2 separate regions of the Homo sapiens genome follow, and region 1 is linked to region 2. The links are contacts of gene promoters, found by promoter capture Hi-C in blood cells and fetal thymus (Javierre and others, 2016). All regions are on one chromosome and are shown on one strand. The core of a region is centred on a gene start or on the middle of the fragment in contact, and the rest is flanking DNA. Distances in the headings are between cores, read along the strand shown. Region 1 holds the start of PPP2CA (protein phosphatase 2 catalytic subunit alpha). Region 2 holds the start of ZCCHC10 (zinc finger CCHC-type containing 10).

What was found. The method cuts DNA at HindIII sites, captures the fragments that hold promoters and counts their contacts. A CHiCAGO score of 5 or more calls a contact.
Region 1: a contact is called between the fragment with the promoter of PPP2CA here and the fragment with the promoter of ZCCHC10 in region 2, in 1 of 17 cell types (non-activated CD4 T cells). The highest score is 8.9, in non-activated CD4 T cells.

The regions. Positions count from the first base shown.
Region 1 is chr5:134,224,568-134,227,479 of GRCh38, reverse strand. PPP2CA (protein phosphatase 2 catalytic subunit alpha) reads left to right here and starts at 1,407. Exons shown (of 7, transcript NM_002715.4): 1 at 1,407-1,720. The coding sequence starts at 1,619. MIR3661 (microRNA 3661) reads right to left here and starts at 1,723; the gene lies at 1,628-1,723. PPP2CA-DT (PPP2CA divergent transcript) reads right to left here and starts at 1,070. Exons shown (of 1, transcript NR_186539.1): 1 at 1-1,070. RefSeq lists enhancers at 107-626, 468-627, 627-1,148, 1,149-1,668, 2,008-2,117. The HindIII fragment of the contact is 2,287 bases long and covers 198-2,484 here.
Region 2 is chr5:133,025,154-133,028,260 of GRCh38, reverse strand. ZCCHC10 (zinc finger CCHC-type containing 10) reads left to right here and starts at 1,712. Exons shown (of 5, transcript NM_001300816.3): 1 at 1,712-1,764. The coding sequence starts at 1,724. RefSeq lists a silencer at 1,433-1,562 and an enhancer at 1,643-1,952. The HindIII fragment of the contact is 6,187 bases long and covers 1-3,057 here.

The DNA of each region.
Region 1 (2,912 bases), core at 158-2,657, 1.2 Mb before region 2:
GGGCCTCCAGTGCCTTCTTCAGCCTGTTGGTGGGGATGATGCCCTCAGAGCCGCAGAGTGAGCAGTCTCCTCCCAAGCATCGCTGAGCACTTGGGTGTGGAAGGGTTGCCTGATACTGAGGGTGGGGTTCCTGGAAGACAGGCGATCAGGTTCAGCTCTTGCCTTGCCCTTTATGGTTAAATGTTCTTTGGAAAGCTTCTATATCTTTCAAATCCTGGGGGCATTATGATCTCTCTTCTGCCTATCCCAAACCATCTTCAGCCAGTACTGTTGGGAGAATACAAGCTCCAGGGCATGGTCCCTGGTCCGTCTGGATGACCCCTCCGGATCTGGCATATAGCTGGCGCTCTATGGAACCAGATATTTATGTAAAAGCAGGGACAATGGAATGTGAAAACGTTTCGCAAACTCCAAAGCGATTCATAACCAGACAGAGGTCCAATCCTAGGGTATACGAGCTCTCTCTTTTAAGCACGTATCACAGCTGCTTCTCACGCCACCGAGACGCGGTCAGGACAGGTGCATCCATCTTCTCTGGGCTTCCCCTCTTGAAAGTAGGCCAGGGCGCGCAGGGGTTGAGGGTCTCTCATTCCCAGAGAGAATTAAACTTGGAGGAAAGCAACCACCGGCGAGGAGCGGGGCGCGTGGAAGCGAGCCGCGGTCCGAGGCCCAAAGAAAAGCCCAAGCCTCGCCCCCGCCATCGCGCCCGACGAGACACCTAGGTCCGGGGACGGGTGTGTGCCGCGGAAGTCAGGTGCACTGCGCAGCACTCCCCCGGTAGGTACACGCTCCTCCACCTACGAGTGACCTAATTACAAGGTGCCAGCCGCGCCCAGAGGTGGGGGTGGTTAATCCAAGCGGCCACTCGCTGCCCGTTCCTGCCCCCAAAGATGACGGAAACCCACACGATTACAGAGCCGCAGCACCCCAGATGAGCCACGGGGTCGCAATTCTCGTTTCCGTGATCGGACTGCCAGGCCCCAGGTGAGGAGCTGAGTTCATCACCAGAGCGGCCTTCCCAGGGGAACCAGTTACAGGCTGCCAGTGGCCCCGGCTTCCATCCGGTCTGCGCCTGCGCGCGGCCCAAGCCCTCGCCTCTCCTGGAATAGTGCTCAGGGATTAGTCCGGTTCGCCGCTGTGCGCACTGCGCATGCTCCAGCTCCATCCTTCCCTTCCCCCACCACCCCGCCCTCCGGGAGCCACGCCCAAAAAGTCAAGGCGCTTCAGTTACCAGCCGGCTACGTCGCGCCTGCGCTTTGACCCCCAGTTTGCGCCCCAACTCCGGTCGTGCGGCCGCCCGGGGAGGGCTCTGCAGTTGCGCAGCTTGCTCCCCGGCCCTTTTCCCCTCCGCTCCCCGCCGCCTCCTGACGCCGGGCGTGACGTCACCACGCCCGGCGGCCGCCATTACAGAGAGCCGAGCTCTGGAGCCTCAGCGAGCGGAGGAGGAGGCGCAGCGGCCGACGGCCGAGTACTGCGGTGAGAGCCAGCGGGCCAGCGCCAGCCTCAACAGCCGCCAGAAGTACACGAGGAACCGGCGGCGGCGTGTGCGTGTAGGCCCGTGTGCGGGCGGCGGCGCGGGAGCAGCGCGGAGCGGCAGCCGGCTGGGGCGGGTGGCATCATGGACGAGAAGGTGTTCACCAAGGAGCTGGACCAGTGGATCGAGCAGCTGAACGAGTGCAAGCAGCTGTCCGAGTCCCAGGTCAAGAGCCTCTGCGAGAAGGTGAGCTGTAGTACGGCTGCGGACAGCCGCCGCGGGGCCGAGCCCGCCGAGGAAAAGGCGGCCGTGAGGAGGGTGCAACATGGCGGAGGCCGCCGGTCCGGGCCCCCCGAGTCTCCGAGACCGGCGCCCATCCTGGCCGGCGGCGGCTTCCTAACGACCCGGCGCCCCCTGCCTCCCGCGCAGGGATTGGTTGCCGCCGCCGCCTAAAATGGCGCCGTTCACTCGACTCCTGGGCTTTTGAGTCAGCCGGCCTTGGCGCCAGACGAGGTGGCAGGGGGAGCGGAGACCCTGTGGGTCATCGTCAGGGACGGTTTTGAGGGTGAGCTGGCTTGGATTCTGCGGCTTGGGAATGGAGCCTGGGCCTCTCCGGTGGGCTGAGTAAGAGTCTTGCCGCTGGTACCCAGGCCTAGTTAGGTCCAGAGCTGCCCAGAGGATCCCCCAAAGGCAGTCTTGTTAGGCCGTATCCCAGAACATACCTAAAGGTCACACAGCTTTAGTACCCCTTGGTGGTTTGTATTAAACTCACCAAGCGATCTTCTCCAGAAATCAAGGTAAGGGGTGTCTTTAAGAATTTTTAAATTATTCTCTTAACCTAATTTTTACGAAGGTCATGGTGGTAGCTATAAGGGAGGAGTGTAACTTATTTTTCATAGTTGGAAGAAATCGGGAATTTGGTGAGTCATACTACATAAGGAGCTTTTGGATTGGAAATCAAGTGTCGGTTGAATATGATTTATATGCTGACTCAAAGCCTTCTCTAAGCTTAACACACTTGGCATTTTGCCGTTTATTTTTAAAATGAACAACATAAAATGGAAGAGCGGTAAATTTTGTATCTTTGTTGCAAAAATTACTTGATAGTATTTTGTGGCTGCAAGTAGTAGTAGTGATAATAACTGTCGACTGAGATTGTATTCCAGACATTGTGCTTAGTGTTTAAATAATGTCTCACATACACTGAAAATAGAATGTTGTAGTCCACTTAGTAACACTAAACTTTATATTAGCTAATTCCCTTTTGTTTTCCCCTGGGGGTTGGGGAAACAGGTAGTTAATTTAGCTATTAGCTTTGTGTTGTATTTTTAAATTCTTGTAACTCAGTTTTCTAAAGTACACAAAATGCTGATCTCTGCTGTGAACATTTTAACTTCCCTTTTCAAAATTAACTTTGCAGCACGTCACTTTAGTACAG
Region 2 (3,107 bases), core at 463-2,962:
CTTGGGGAATATCCATGTAATCCATAACATAATGTATAAAAAGAATGAATTAGATCTGTATGTGCAGACATGGGAAAATATTTTCTTTTCTTTTTTTGTTTTTGAGATGGAGTTTCACTCTTGTTGCCCAGGCTGGAGTGCAATGGCGCGATCTCGGCTCACTGCAACCTCTGCTTCCCAAGTTCAAGCGAATCTCTTGCCTCAGCCTCCCGAGTAGCTGGGATTACATGAATGCACCACCACGCCCGGCTAATTTTTTTTGTATTTTTAGTAGAGATGGGGTTTCTCCATGTTGGTCAAGCTGGCCTTGAACTCCCAACCTCAGGTGATCCGCCCTTCTCGGCCTCCGAAAGTGCTGGGATTACAGGCGTGAGCCACTGCGCCTGGCCGGGAAAACATTTTCATAAGTACACTGAGGAATGAAAAAATCAAGCTGGAGAACACAACATGTAAGAGCCTATTTTTTTGAAGAACAAGTTGTGCTCAAAGGTCACATCATCACCTTCCCTAACTCCTAATCACTCTTTAATCCCTTACTCTGAAATATTTTTCGTTAGAGTACTTATGCCCATGAGAATAGTCTTCATTCATTGTCTGTAGAAAGTTCCATGTGTACACGGATTTTATTTGTTCAAATGCTCTGTCCTCAGCTCCTAAAACATTTTAAGTGTTAATTATTAATTGAAAAAATATGGCTGGGCGCGGTGGCTCACGCCTGTAATCCCAGCACTTTAGGAGGCCGAGGCGGGCGGATTATGAGGTCAGGAGATCGAGACCATCCTGGCCAACATGGTGAAACCCTGTCTCTAGTAAAAATACAAAAATTAGCTGGGCATGGTGGCGCGTGCTTGTCATCCCAGCTATTCGGGAGTGTGAGACAAGAGAATCTCTTGAACCAGGGACCCAGAGGTTGCACTGAGCCGAGATCGCGCCACTGCACTCCAGCCTGGCGACACAGCGAGACTCTGTCTCAAATTAAAAAAAAAAGGAAAAAATATGGATGACCCAGAAACACACACACACTTCAGAAAATTATATATATTTCAGAGAACGTGGGTTTTAAGAGAATAATAGCTCCGTGAGCTGACATTAGATGTAGGTGCAGCTAAAATATTCTAAAATATTTGTATAGTCCTTTTCTGCTTGATAAAGCAGCTTTAGTTATACAGTCCCATTTAGTACTCGTAACAACGCTGTGAAATACATAAAAAACAGAAATAACGTATATGTTTGCACTCCATGGCTTGCTAAAGTCATTCTTTCAATTGATGGTCTCAATCCTGGTCAACTAATTCCTTTCTATTCTCCAGACTACTTCTAGTTTTCTGAACACCAAAGTTTCATTCTTTGTCTTTGTATGTGTATCCCTCGTTCGAGAATGTTGTCCTCATTTTCCACAGATAATGTTCTTGCCTGTAATCATCCTTTGAAACCCTGTTCGGCCCGAGAACCCGAGACCCATACTGGAGACACCGGCCCCTCCCGACCCACCAGTCCCTCCCGTCCCGACCCTCCAGCCCCTCCAGCCCCTCCCCTCCCGACCCTCCAGCCCCTCCCCTCCCGACCCTCCAGCCCCTCCCCTCCCGACCCACCAGCCGGCACTAAGATACCTCCCCTTAGAAGCCTGTCTGGCCCCGCCTACGTCTACGGCCTCCCGGTTGGAAGCCCCGCCCTTCCGAGGAGTTTCCCAAAACCCTGCGCGGCCGGCTTTGACCGCGCTAAGATGGCGACTCCCATGCATCGGCTAATAGCCCGGAGACAAGCGTAAGTAAGGATCCGGTTCGGGTCCACTGGAGGGCTGGGAGCGGGGAAACGCGCGTCAACGGGCTGGTGTCGGACCCCTATTGGGACCGGCGGAGAATGTCCGTTTCTCAAACACTCTTCTGGCTCCCGGGGGGCTCGGGCCCGGGCGATAAGTCTGGTGACCGGGGGTTAGCGATTTCGCGGAAGACAGCCGCGTAAAGTCTGCGGCACGGGACAGAGCGGGGTTTGAAGACAACTGTCGCGTTTGGTTTCTCTGAAAGGAACGCCCACAGTTGGTCACTCAGTGATTTATGCCCCTCCGCCAACCCCACGCGTGGACAGGGGAGCCCTGAAGCCCCGGTCCGACACCTTTATTCCAGCCGACGTAAACCTTCAGTTTCCTATTCAGTGTCCAGCCCAGCTGCCTTTTCCTACTTCCTTATTCTAGCGCCTTCCTTAGGAACACCCTGCCTTCAATGCCGATTGCTTTCCCAGGCTATCTTACCACCTTTTGCTACTCATTCTCTCTTTCAATAAATATTAATTTATTTAGTTCCTACCGTTCTGTGCCAGACATTGGGTATAAATAGAGGTGTTCAAGACAAAATCCTTGCTTTCAGAGAGCTTACATTCTAGTGATGGAAACAGTCGATAAACCACAAATTGTAAATACAGCTGGTGATAACAGCTTTGAAGGAAGTAAGCTGTTGTGATGGAAAGAGGGAAAGGCCCACTTTAGGTTGGTTGGACTGGAAAGGCATCTCTGAAGAGGTGGAATTTGAACAGAGATTTAAAGGATGAAAAAGGAACAGTCATACGAGGATTTTGAGAAAGAGCATCCGGATAGTGGCATAATTGCTTTGAGCCTGAAACTTACTTTTTACAGAACTGAAAGATAGCCATTACGCCTAATGAACAAGAGAGAGTGGCAGAAGAGATTCATAGCTGACAAATAATGCAAGGGTCACCCCAGATGCCCCTTTCTTTTTTTTTTTTTTTTTTTTTTTTTTTTTTGAGGCGGAGTCTTGCTCTGTCTCCCAGGCTGGAGTGCAGAGGTGCAATCTTGGCTCACTGCAAGCTCCGCCCCCCGGGTTCACGCCGTTCCCCTGCCTCAGCCTCCCGAGTAGCTGGGACTACAGGCGCCCGCCACCATGCCCGGCTGGTTTTTTGTATTTTTAGTAGAGATGGGGTTTCACCGTGTTAGCCAGGATGGTCTCGATCCCCTGACCTCGAGATCCGCCCGCCTTGGCCTCCCAAAGTGCTGGGATTACAGGCGTGAGCTACCGCGCGCGGCAACCCCTTTCTTATAAAGCTTTTTTTTCCAACAGCCTTTGCACATCCAGACATCTGCCTCTTTTTCATAA